Regions from separate parts of the Homo sapiens genome. Here region 1 is linked to region 2. Evidence: promoter capture Hi-C in human tissues and cell types (Jung and others, 2019). All regions are on one chromosome and are shown on one strand. Each heading gives the region's core, a stretch centred on a gene start or on the middle of the fragment in contact. The rest is flanking DNA. Distances are from core to core; before and after follow the strand shown.

What was found. Contacts are between HindIII fragments. The study calls those that stand out against the background at their distance.
Region 1: a contact is called between a fragment that was not itself captured here and the fragment with the promoter of GOT2 in region 2, in 2 of the 25 tissues and cell types used here (heart left ventricle and mesendoderm cells).

The regions. Positions count from the first base shown.
Region 1 is chr16:59,321,308-59,327,618 of GRCh38, forward strand. No RefSeq gene overlaps it. Among named protein-coding and RNA genes, the nearest start is that of LINC02141, 530 kb to the right of the region's middle. The HindIII fragment of the contact is 4,925 bases long and covers 2,026-6,311 here.
Region 2 is chr16:58,732,038-58,738,592 of GRCh38, forward strand. GOT2 (glutamic-oxaloacetic transaminase 2) reads right to left here and starts at 2,279. Exons shown (of 10, transcript NM_002080.4): 1 at 2,103-2,279. The coding sequence starts at 2,191. RefSeq lists silencers at 1,604-1,693, 1,794-1,883 and enhancers at 2,006-2,624, 2,324-2,403. The HindIII fragment of the contact is 7,339 bases long and covers 1-2,433 here.

The DNA.
Region 1 (6,311 bases), core at 3,238-5,737, 590 kb after region 2:
AAAAAAAAAAGATTAATTATAACTACCTGTTGAAATACAATGACATTCATAATTTTAGACAAGGAAAGGGAAGGGAAGGTTAAAATAGGATTAATAACAAAAATATATCAGCCCGGATAAAAAGGAAATTAAAGAAAAATTAAAGATAACATCATAATTTTTTATGAATATTTTGCAGATCCAGTGAGAATTACTGTAGGACATTTCTTGAACATACTTGCCCAGCCTTACTTTGTGCAAATATTATTGAGAAGGTGAAAAATAAGCAGAAGGTCTAGGCTATGCATGCATATATAACATAATACTAAAATTAATAATTGATCACATTTATTGAGTGTTTACTATGCTGGCCACTTTTCATACATTGCCTTTGAAGCTTGTGATGAGCAGTAAAATATGCTTCCTTTATGCAGATGAGAAAACTGACACAGTGCAAACTGTGTCAGATCTTGAAGTCAACGAGAAGAAGAATTGAGAGTAAAACTCGTGTCTACTTGATCCCTAGTGGTTACAGGGATAACGTTGAAGATACCTTAGTGAATCAACAAAGGTGAGGTCAGCTGCGATGAAAACCTCCAATGTGATTTGACCAACCTGTATTATTCAGTATAACCAAACCTAAGGGGAGAATAGGCTAACCTGATGTCTCTTTAAATGTCCTGCTTATTATATGATTCCAACAACCACTGAGAGACTATAATTCATTGGAGGGAGTGGGGAAGGAGTCTTTATACGAACATAATATATTTCAGTGATCCTTCAATTTGGGTTTTTCTAGCCAACTGTGGGGAGAGATCCATTCTCTTTAATTCTTGTATCCCTAAAGTCAAATTTAGTAGGTACCACATGGAAGAAAGTCAATGTTTCTTAAATGGTTTTGAATGAGTGTAGTTTATCACTCTTTTTGGTAGAATCCAGTGCTAAATGAAAAGTTTAGAGCTCTCTTGACAGTAGATTTCTAGATTTAAAAGAAATGTAAGAGTTAGATAATTCAATACCTTCATCTTATAGGTGAGGAGACTGAGATTGATGGGGGCAGCTGACAAAACTAAGGTCACACAGTAAATTAGTGACCAATTCACACTTACAAACCATGCTTCCAGCTTAGCCACCATCATACCTTCTTGCTCTTTTGCAGTTTAGTTTCCTCAGAACTGAATAGCTCTTAGACTGATAGCATTGATATTGATGTGGGATCTTGGTGTTCAAATAGCCCACCCTCTCATGCATTAAATAACACCTTTGCATACTTCTCTGCTCATTTTAGGGTCTCAACACCAAGAATTGTAACTGGAGAAGTGTCTTTTTTACTTGTGCCCAGGATGATGGCAGAAAGGCAGTGCATGGAGCCTGTTGTTCAGGATTCCCACTGAGAGTCAAAACAATGGGCATTGCCTGAAAAGGTTTCCTAAGATTTTTGGCTACAGCGTTTCAAACCAAAATGTTGAGATGTGGCATATGGCCAATATTTATAGCCCGCTTAGCCAGTGAACCTTTACAGAGCTATTACCAGAAGGATTTTCATGATTAATACCATCACAATACGAAGGAAATTTATTTGAGAAATAAACCCTTGGGCTCAGTAAACAAAAACACAAGCACATCCAGAAGCCTGAGTTACCTTTGCCAAATTCTCTCCCATCATCAGGCAAATGCCCAAAGAAACCCTGACTTCCAGCCAACATGGGTTCCATAGAGAAATATGGAAGCTTCTGTTTTAACTTTCTTCTTCCTTTCATGACTGCCTTTTAAGAAATATTTACAGAAAAAGTTTATAGATTTGTATTCCTAAATCTATAGTATTATAGATAGAGTTCTTAGATTTTGGAAGATAGGGACATATGATCAAATTTTTAATGAAATACTCTGATTCAGTCAAGATGCCAGTGTCTCTTCACATTGCTGAGACCTAGAGACACTCAGAGACAGAGGGCAATTTTCCTGGGTATAATCATGACTCTTTGAACTGGGGTCAGCTAAAAACACTTCAGTCTATTTAGTTCTCTTCCCCAAACCACTTTTCCTTCATTGCAACAATATGTTCCTCATGTGAGGAGAGCGGATCTTTTCAATCCATGTACAATATGGAAATTCATAAGAGAGGCTGCCCAAGTAAAGTTTAACAAACAGCGGTGTACTACAGATGGCTTATGAGAGCTAACTGTTAAGTTTTCAGGAATCTTGAGAGCCAATTGCTAGCCATGGTAGGAGTATTGACAACATGGAAAGTGTCAAACACAACAAATCAGGGCTTTTTGCTTTGTTGAGTATCCCACTGGAAAGTGTTTGTATATTAATTCATTCCTTCAAGGCTGTGTTAAATGCTACCTCCTTTTTAAAGCTTTCTGTGACCCACCCAGGTAGTCTTAACCTCTCTCCCCTAAACTCCCAGTAATACTGTATTTTGAACTCCTTTTAGGAGATGCATCATTTTCAACCACAAAGCATGGAGGTTCATTCCCATTCACATACTTTATATTCTTTCTGGTATATCAGTTTATTGGGTATTGGATTGCTATATGATTTTTTAAAAACATCCTGTAGTTAGCATGATGCCCAGCAGGTTTGGCAGGCAGAAAATATTTTGCAAATTAAGTCGATAAAACATTAGCACAACAGTGATCCAAGACTTTACTTAAGCTCAATTATACCATTGCTGTCATTAAAATCTGAGTTGTCATTCTACCAGTGGAAGCCATGGCAGCATCAGGATGTTGATACGACATGTCATCCAAGAAAGGCGGGAGTAGGTGTGAAGAGGAGGCTCTCAGCCCCTGTACTTTAGCTTCTGTGGAGATAAACTCCTTATCTTTTAAAGGCTGGTCACTTGCTCTAGTTTTTTGTTTGTTTGTTTATTTTTGTTTGTTTTCTTTTTTGAGAGAGAACCTTGCTCTGTCGCACAGGCTGGAGTGCAGTGGCATGATCTTGGCTCACTGCAACCTCCGCCTCCTGGGTTCAAGCGATTCTCCTGTCTCCAAGCGATTCTCCTGTCTCAGCCTCCCAAGTAGCTGGGATTACAGGTGAACGCCACCATGCCTGGTTAATTTTTGTATTTTTGTAGAGAAGGGGTTTCACAATGTTGGCCAGGCTGGCCTAGATCTCCTGACCTCAAGTAATCCACCCCCCTTGGCCTCCCAAAGTGCTGGGATTACAGGCATGAGCCACCGCGCCTGGCCTCTAATTCTTTAGTTATAAAATTGCTCTCACTAGGGAAGAGGGCAGAAGAGGATATGCCGTCTTGTGCTTTCAAAACATCAATTATTTCAGGAAGTACAGAATATAATGAGAGTAAACATTTTGGCGAGATAGGACAGCTGTCTGCATGTTTAAAGAAAGGAGAAGGATTCAGAGAAGAGTGAATGATTAAAATTTTGGTGAGTCATTCCTTCAGTCATTCACTGAACTAACATGTTATTGGGTGAATAATACATGCTAGACATTCTTTCAGGGACTGGGGATACAAAGATAAATAAGAAGTTATGCATCCCTTTGGAAATCAAAGACTATTAGAAGAAGTCGAAGGTGGAGGAAATATATTTAGGAAGAGATTTCATCAAGATTATGGGAAATTTAAGAATGGTAAATTAAAAGACCAACAGAAAAACAGTTTTAAAGTGAAATGTGTTATGTCTAATGGAGAAATAGACAAAAAACTTTTTTGTATAATTAGAGTTGAGACAGAGAGAGAGAAGGGGTGGCGGGAGAGAGAGAGAAAATGACTATGGGTTTGAATAAATCCCTTATTCCTCTTGCCCAAATTTAGACTTCCAAAGGTATATGTAGATGCTATCTATACCCAGTGGAGCCATTAGTGCTGAAGAGCTCAGCTGCATGGCTAGTAATTAGGAAGAGGCAATGAGGAAACCTGTTTCCCTGAGGTCTTCACCCTACTTCACTCCCACAACTTCAATCTGCCCAGTTGTGCCATGGAGACAGCTACAGCAATTCCATTCCGATAGTGGCACAAAATAAATCACTGGAAACCGTTTTGCACTTGCCCAGAGACTTTCAAGAGAGAATCTCAAAGTGGATCTGGGCTGCTGTGTGCCACAAAGAGGACCAACATTTCTCTTTGGCTTTAAAGGATGTCCCATTGTGAGAATGAACTTTGGGTTTTATCTCTCCCTTTGAAATAGAATACATCAGAGTGAGACATCTAAAGGCAAAGACACAATGATCCCCAATCCAAAGCCAAGTTCAAAAACACAGAGATGAGTTGTGTTATTATGAAATTGTATTTGCTGGCTGAGATGGGGGACAAAGAAAGATTAAGTTGCTAACAGAAAATGGGTCTTGAAATTCCTATTAGTCTCGTGCCCCAGGGCACAAACTTTTTCAGCTAGACAGTTACTTTTTAGAAGTATGGGAGCAATGGCACGGGTGGCGCTTGAGGCTTCCCTTTCCTCTCATTCTGAAATGTACAGAATTATTAATGTGAGATTTATTAATGATTGGATGATGGATGAGGAAAATTAGTTTTAGAAAGTTGTTAGCATTGAGAATTGTTTCCTTTAGGAGGCCCAAGTTCATACTATGAGGGGTGCCTCAAGTGTTAGGTTTTATAAGTACAGCAATAACTTTCCGCATACCAACTTCTTAAAGCATATATCTAAGTAAGATATACCTACCTAATTGTAACTGTGCTTTAAACCTGACATTTCAGTTAGATTATATATACATCAATCATGTTAAAGGATAAATGCTTTCTAGCCCAGCTGGATTTCAGTACAGAGAAAAGCATTTCAAATTCATTCATTCATTTTTTTCTGCTTGTCATCTATTACCCTGTCTACTTTTTGTTATAGTAATACTAAAACAGTTTTTTTTTTTAAAATTCATTCTACATTCAACACGTATTTACTGAGTATCTACCATGGGACAGGTAAATTTTTAAAAAAATTTTGTGGGTACATAGTAGGCATATAGATCTATGGGATACATGAGATGTTTTGATACAGGCATGCCATGTAAAATAAGCGCATCATAGAGAATGGGATACCCATTCCCTCAAGCATTTATCCTTTGAGTTACGAACAATCAAATTACACTGTTTATTTTATTTTATTTTATTTTATTTATTTATTTGAGACGGAGTCTCTCTCTGTCTCACAGGCTGGAGTGCAGTGGCGCGATCTCTGCTCACTGCAAGCTCCGCCTCCCAGGTTCGCGCCATTCTCGTGCCTCAGCCTCTCGAGTAGCTGGGACTACAGGCGCCCACCGCCACGCCCGGGCTAATTCTTTTGTATTTTTAGTAGAGACGGAGTTTCATTATGTTAACCAGGATGGTCCCAATCTCCTGACCTCGTGATCCGCCTGCCTCGGCCTCCCAAAGTGCTGGGATTACAGGCTGAGCCATCGCGCCCGGCAACTTACTTCCTTTCTTTTGGGCATATACTCAGCAATGGGATTGCTGGATCATATGGTAGCTCAATTTTTAGTTTTTTGAGGAATCTCCAAACTGGTCTCCATAGTGGTTGTACTAATTTACACCCCCACCAACAATGTACAGGGGTTGTCTTTTCTCCACATTCTTGACAGAATTTGTTATTGTCTGTCTTTTGGATACACTGAATAGTATACTGATCATCATCTGACGATCAACGATGTTGAACACTTTTTCAAATGCCTGTTTGCCACTTGTATGTCTTCTTTTGAGAAATGTCTACTCAAATTTGTTGCCCATTTTTTTATTGGATTATTACATTTTTTCCCTACAGAGTTGTTTGAGCTCCTTATATATTCTGGTTATTAATCCCTTGTCAGATGGGTGGTTTGAAAACATTTTTTTCCATTCTGTGGGTTGTCTCTTCACTTTGTTGGTTTTATCCCCTGCTGTGCAGAAGCTTTTTAACTTGATGCGATCCCACTTGTCCATTTTTGCTTTGGTTGTCTTGTAGAGTGTTGCTCAGGAAATTTTTGCCCAGAGCAACGCCCTGGAGATTTTCCACAATATTTTCTCTCAGTAGTTTCATGGTTTGAGGTCTTAGAATTAACTCTTCAATCCATTTTGACTTGATGTTTGTATATGGTGAGGGCTGGGAGTCTAATTTCACTCTTCTGCATATGAATATCCAGTTTTCCCAGCACCATTTATTGAAGAGACTGTCTTTTTCCCAGTGTATGTTTTTGGCACCTCTGTCAAAAATGCGTTCAATGTAGGTGTGTGGATTTGTTTCTGGGTTTTCTATTCTGTTTTATTGCTCTATGTGTCTGTTTTTATGCCAGGACCATGCTATTTTGGTTACTATAGCTCTGTAGTATCATTTGAAGTCAGGTAATGTGATTCCTTCAGCTTTGTTCTTTTTGCTTAG
Region 2 (6,555 bases), core at 1,029-3,528:
AATTTATTTTCTGGTCAGGTGGGGTTGCTTAGCCTATAATCCCAGCGCTTTGCGGGGCTGATGTGGGAGGAGTCTGAGACCAACACAGGGAGACTCTGTCTCTACAAAAAATAAAAAATTAGCTGGGTGTGGTGGTGTATGCCTGCAGTCCCAGCTACTTGGGAGGCTGAAGCAGGAGGACCACTTGAGCCTGGAAGGTCAGGCTGCAGTGAGCCATGATTGTGCCACTGCACTCCAGCCTGGGCAACACAGTGAGACCCTGTATTTAAAGAAAAAAAAAAAGGGAATTTTTTTTGGTACATATTTTGCAGCACTGTGGTTCCCCTGTGTAAGATTAGTCGAGAGAAGGAACAATAAAATCTGTAACTGGTTATGATCAATTAGTTGTAAACACCATTACACTTGGACCAGCCTATGTTCAGATTTTGATCTAAGATACAACATTAAAATGTCATACTGTATTTGTTTCCGTTGCATTACGTGAAAAATCAGGGCTTAAAATAAAAATATCCAATATAAGAGACATGCCAGCAACTGTTAATAGTGCTGAGATGTAACAGTGAATATAAAGTAGGTAAAGTCTCCGCTCTCATGGAACTTACATTCTAGTAAGAAAAATACAGAAAAGAAAAATGAGTCAGACTCTCAAACTGAAAGAATGACTAACCCTGACCCCAAGGGATTTTCACCAAGCACTAGAGCTTCAGGTGATCTAGCCAAATCCATAAAACAAGGTATTATTTTAAGATTACTGCAATAGGGAAACATACTTTCTCTTGACGGAAATTTTAAGCACTCCTTTGGTTTTCCAAATTTGTTGCATAAATAACTCCTCCTGGCTCTGGCCCACTAGGTAGGCAGACTTAAAGAGCACACGTTGACAGTGGGCCAGGAAGGAGCCAAGTCAGGAAGAGAAAAAAGTGCGAAGCCTGGGCAAAACTGTACTGCCAAGGCTGTGGGGCCTTGGAAAGGACAGATAGTTCTGCTGGCTGAAAGACACAGAGCATACATTCAAACGAAAGGCCAAGCTACGCTTTGCTCCTTGCAGTTAATACCTGCTTGGGGGTGGTTTTAAAACTCAGTTCCTTATTAAGGTAGTGCTTAAGGAGAGTGCTCCAAATCGGCTTCTTGAGTTGAATTAATCTTCTGGCTCCGGTCTCCACTGGGAATGAATTACTAGAGCTCGTTTCAAGCTCTGAAATTTCCCTCCATACTATTATACACGCCACAGTACGAAATTACGTTTGTCATTTTTTGAGCAATGACCATTTGTCATTGTCCTTCCCTCGCCTTGTTCACAGTTGTATCGTTGGCATCTGGTCCAGAGCCTGGCTCTGAGAAACTGCAGTTACGAAATATTTACTGAATGAAAGAGCACAGGGAGATGGAGAGGAAGATTGATAGCCTCCCTGCAACCGGACCTCCTTAGGGGCAATAAGGAAAAAACAAAACAAAACAAAAAAAGAGACACACTACACCTCGACCCTTTCCCAAGCAAAGGCCAAACGGGCCCCGGGGTCACAGGGACCTCGGGGGGTCGCAAGGTCAGGAGAATGCCGCACGCCAAGGTCGCAGGTGCGGGAAGGAAAGCGAGGCCCGAATGCCGGCGCCCCGGAAACCTTCCTCTCGCGCTCTTCCCGCCCAGGGCACACACGCGGCAGCCAGCCGCCGCCGGCCCACCGACTCGGGCGGGCCGGGGGCCAGGACAGGTGCGCCCGCCGCCCCCAGGGCACCCTATCAAGGGCACGGTCGTTACCCGGCGCCGCTGCCCCAGTACTATCCGCACCCCTCCCACTGAATGGGAGTCCGGCAACCGCCGAGGGCCACACTTCCTTTCCCTAGGGATTGCGTTGCACGCCTTCCTGCAGGGCCCAGTGCGGGGACCAGAGGGATGTGGGATCCTGAGGATCACTGTGGGGCACGGACGCTCAATCCTCAGTCCCCAGTAAGGGAAAGCCGAGGGGGTGGCAGAAAAGTGTGTGTGTGTGCGTGTGAGTGACAGTGTGTATTTGGGGGCCGGGAGGGGTGAATGTCCTGGGGTGCTCGCAGCTCGGCGGGGCAGGGCCATCGCCCTGGCTCCATCTCCGTTTCCCTTGGCTTACCTGGCTCTGGCAGAGGCCGCGGCGGCGAGGCCCGGGTGGAAGGCGGCGGCGATCCCGGGGAGGACGCGGCCGGAGTGCAGCAGGGCCATGGTGGACCGTAGGAGGGCAGTGGGCAGCCGCAGGACGGAGCAGAGGGCGAGCGGACACACACACAGGGAACCGGCTCCTGCTGAAGGTAAGGACAGGGACTTCCCTGGGCCAGAGCGGCCGCGTGCTGGGCCCGAGCCACGTCACAGCGATCCCTGGCGGCCGGCGGGCGGAGCGGCGTGGGCTCAGCGGAGGTCGTGGAAGAGGATGACTGCACAGTTTACCTACGCCCAGCCCTTGCTGCGCTTCATTCATTTAATCCAGCTGGGCCAGGCCTGGCCGGCCGAAGAGGTGGCTGCTGTTATGGCAGTTTGAAAGATGAGAAAATGTAGGCTGACATAGTTGACGTATTTTGTCTGATGCCTTACAGCCATTAGGACCCAAGGTGGCCTTACTTTCAACCCTAATAGTTTCCCTAAGCACAAGTCATGTCACGTCGTTCCTGAATGTTTCCTTATCCCCCACCCTTTTTTTTTTTTTTTTTTTTTTGAGATGGAGTTTCACTCTGTCACCCAGGCTGGAGTGCAGTGGCGTGATTTCGGCTCACTACAACCTCTGCCTCCCAGGTTCAAGCGATTCTCCTGCCTCAGCTCCCCGAGTAGCTGGGTTACAGGTGCCACCACCACGCCCGGCTAATTTTTGTATTTTTAGTAGAGACGGGGGTTTCACCATGTTGACCAGTCTGGTCTCAAACTCCTGATCTCAAGTGATCTGCCCGTCTCAGTCTCCCAAGACTGCTAGGATTACAGGCATGAGCCACCGCACCTGGCTTCCTTATCCCTTTTATGGAGAGGGTCGCATGTGTATTTTGTGGGGCAGTTGTGAGGATTAATAAGATTAGCAGATTATGTCTAAAACAGGGCCTGATTTAGTAAGCACAAAATAACCCATGGTCATTAATGACAAACTCGTGTATGTCAAATCCTGATAACTGTTTGTGGAAGGAAATGAATCGGTTTTGAAGGAAATGAATCGGTTTTAAAGGAAAAAGCAAATGAATTTCAGACACATCCACAAGTCAAACGAGTCTTTCTCATGTGTAGTCTATTTCTCTGATACTCGTCTCTTAAACCAAGGTAGGGGCCCGGTGTGTTGGCTTATGCCTGTAAACCCAACACTTTGGTAGACTGAGGCAGGAGGATAGCATGAAAACAAGAGTCTGAGACCAGCCTGGGTAACAAGATGAAACCCCCATCTCTTAAAAAAATAAAAAAAAATTAGCAGGATGTGGTGTTGCGTGCCTGTTCCAGCTACTCAGAAGGCTGAGGAGGGAGGATTGCTTGAGCCCATTAATTCAAGAGTGCAGGCCGGGCGCGGTGGCTCACGCCTGTAATCCCAGCACTTTGGGAGGCCGAGGCAGGCGGATCACGAGGTCAGGAGATCGAGTCCATCCTGGCTAACCCTCTCTCTACTAAAAAAATACAAAAAAAAAGTAGCCGGGCATAGTGGCGGGCGCCTGTAGTCCCAGCTACTCGGGAGGCTGAGGCAGGAGAATGGCATGAACCCGGGAGGCGGAGCTTGCAGTGAGCCAAGATCGCGCCACTGCACTCCAGCCTGGGCAACAGAGCCAGACTCCGACTCAAAAAAAAAAAAAAAAAAAGAGTGCAGTGAGCCAGGATTGCGCTACTGCACTCCAGCCTGGGTAACAGAGTGAGACGCTGGCTCTAAATAAATAAATAAATACATACATAAATAAAATAAAACCGAGATAGAACTGTGTACCTTGGCAATTTAATATCTCCTCTGTGGCTCCACGTTGCCTGAATGGTAAAGTCTAAACCCCTACTTAGGGCCACATTCTAGGTCCTTCCGGCCCAGCTCCAATTTACTGTCTCAGACCCTTATGCTCTCATATGACCTTGACCTATGCGCCTATAGGCCATGACTTGGGATTCTACCTGTGAAAAGTAAAGTAGAGATTCTTCTTTAAAGACTTTCCTCCCTGTCTAATTAGAAATAAATAGTAACTTCTCTTAAAAACAAAATGTATTCAAAGACCTGTACTAACAGTCTTAAATATCTGCTAGCCATAATAAAGAAATCAATGTACTTTATGTTCCTAGCTGCCACCATTTAGCCTAAATATTTGCCCTGGCATGCTTATACTGGTCCAAGCAAGCATTAGGTCATAGCCTGTTCCTCTTCCTTATTTGAAGGTGTTTTTACCTTTCTCAGCATTCCACAAGTTACTTCCTCCTTCCTTTGCTCTCCTCTGCCTTTGCCTCTTTTAAAAAGTTCTAAGTTGCTAGCCAATCAGAACAAATACAAAATGTGAGGACCTGTTCCAGCCAATGAAAACCGGACACAGCAGCAAGGTGGATGTATCAGGTTATAAGTGACCTTGTCTCCTTTGTTTGGTGTACTCTCATGGCAAAACTGCTGTCGAGTGTACCCTTTCTGCCGAAAGTATAAAGATGGCCTTGCTGAGGAAATTAAATTTATGTTCAAGTGCTATTTCTTTACAGCACCAAGAAACAAGAATTTCAAACATACCAGTACATCAGTTTGCTCAGACTGCTGTAACAAATCCCCATGAATTGGGTGGTTTAAAACAACAGAAATTTATTCACTCACAATTCTGGAGGCCCAAAATCAAAAATCAAGGTATTGGCAGGGTTTGTGCCTTATGGGGTCTCAGAGACTCTGTTCCATGCTTCTCCTAGCTTCTGGCAATTGTCTGCACTCCTGGGCATTCGTATGCTGTTAGAGGCATCACTAATCTCTGCCTCTGGTGTCACACAGTGTTCTCTCCCTGTCTGTCTCTTCTCTTCTTTTAAGGACACCAATCATATTGGGGTAGGGTGCATCTTAATTGCCTCATCTTCGCCTGATTACATCTGTAAAGACCCTATTTTCAAATAGATCACATTAATGGGTTCCCCAGGTTAGAACTTAAACGTATCTTTTTTGGGGGCACATTTCAACACATAACAACTACTATTCCCAAAACAATTACATGTCCAGGTATAAACCCTAGAGATCTTCTCACACATTTTTAAGGCTGTCAGTAAAGCATTGTTTATAAAAGCAAAACAGGGAACAACCTAGTCGCCCATCGATGGAGGAAGAGATGGATGTTCTGCTACAGTCTCATGATGGAGCATTACAGAACTACTAACGTGAATGAACTCAATAGATGTCACCATGGATAGACCTCAAAAACATAAACATGCTATAGAATTATACATATAATATGGTGCCACTTAGACAATATTTTTAAAATACACAAAACCATAACATACATTTATTCATAAATGTATGTAAAAGTTTGAAAAAATATGCCAAGGATATGGTTCAATACAGGATTAGGAGGGCATGAGCGTATTTGCCCTTGTGGAGGGAAGGAGACAACTTTGTCATATTAGCTTCATAAAAATTATAGATAAGAGGCAGGCACGGTGGCTCGCGCCTGTAATCCCAGCACTTTGGAGGCCAAAGCGGGCGGATCACCTGAGGTCAAGAATTAGAGACCAGCCTGGCCAACATGGTGAAACCCCGTCTCTACTAAAAATACAAAAATTAGCCAGATGTGGTGGCGCGTGCCTATAGTCCCAGCTACCCAGGAGGCTGAGGTAGGAGAATCGCTTAAACCTGGGAGGCAGAGGTTGCAGTGAGCCTAGATTGTGCCACTGCACTCCAGCCTGGGCACAGAGCAAGACTCTGACTCCAAAAAAAAAAAAAAAAAAGAAAAAAAGAAAAAATACAGATCAGATTAACAATTGTCACCATTTTGGGGTTGAGTATTTGTCACATTGGATTCTGTACTTTTCTGTATGTGTGTATATGTGTGTGTGTGCATATAGTTTTTTGTGTGTGTATATATATACACATATACATATATATACACACATATACATACATATACACATATACATATATATATATACACACATATACATATGTATATATGCTAATTTGAGTTCCTGATATGAAAGGTGGATTGGAAGGAACAACCCTACAGTGGGGAGACTAGGTAGAAGGAAGGTTTACACAGGAATCCAGGCAAGAAATTCTGATTGCCTGAGTTCAGGTAGAGGTAACAGTGATGTAGAAAAGGTTACAGATCTGGGGCATATCAAGGAGGTAGAATCAGATGGATTTGGTGATTAGATGCAGAGAAAGGTAGAAAAGGAGTCAGAAATAATTCCCAATGCTTTAGTTAAAATTGGGGTTGTCTGCAGTTAACAGAGACCCCGAATAATTGACTTAACATATATATCTTTCTCACATAAAAATCTGGAGATAGGCAGTCCAGGGTTGGGGTGGCATTTCTGACCCAGAGTCCTTAGGAAGTCAAGTCCTTCCAGATCCTCGCCCCGCCCTCCCTAAAGTATGGTTGACTCCCAGTGGTCCAAGATAGTAGCCA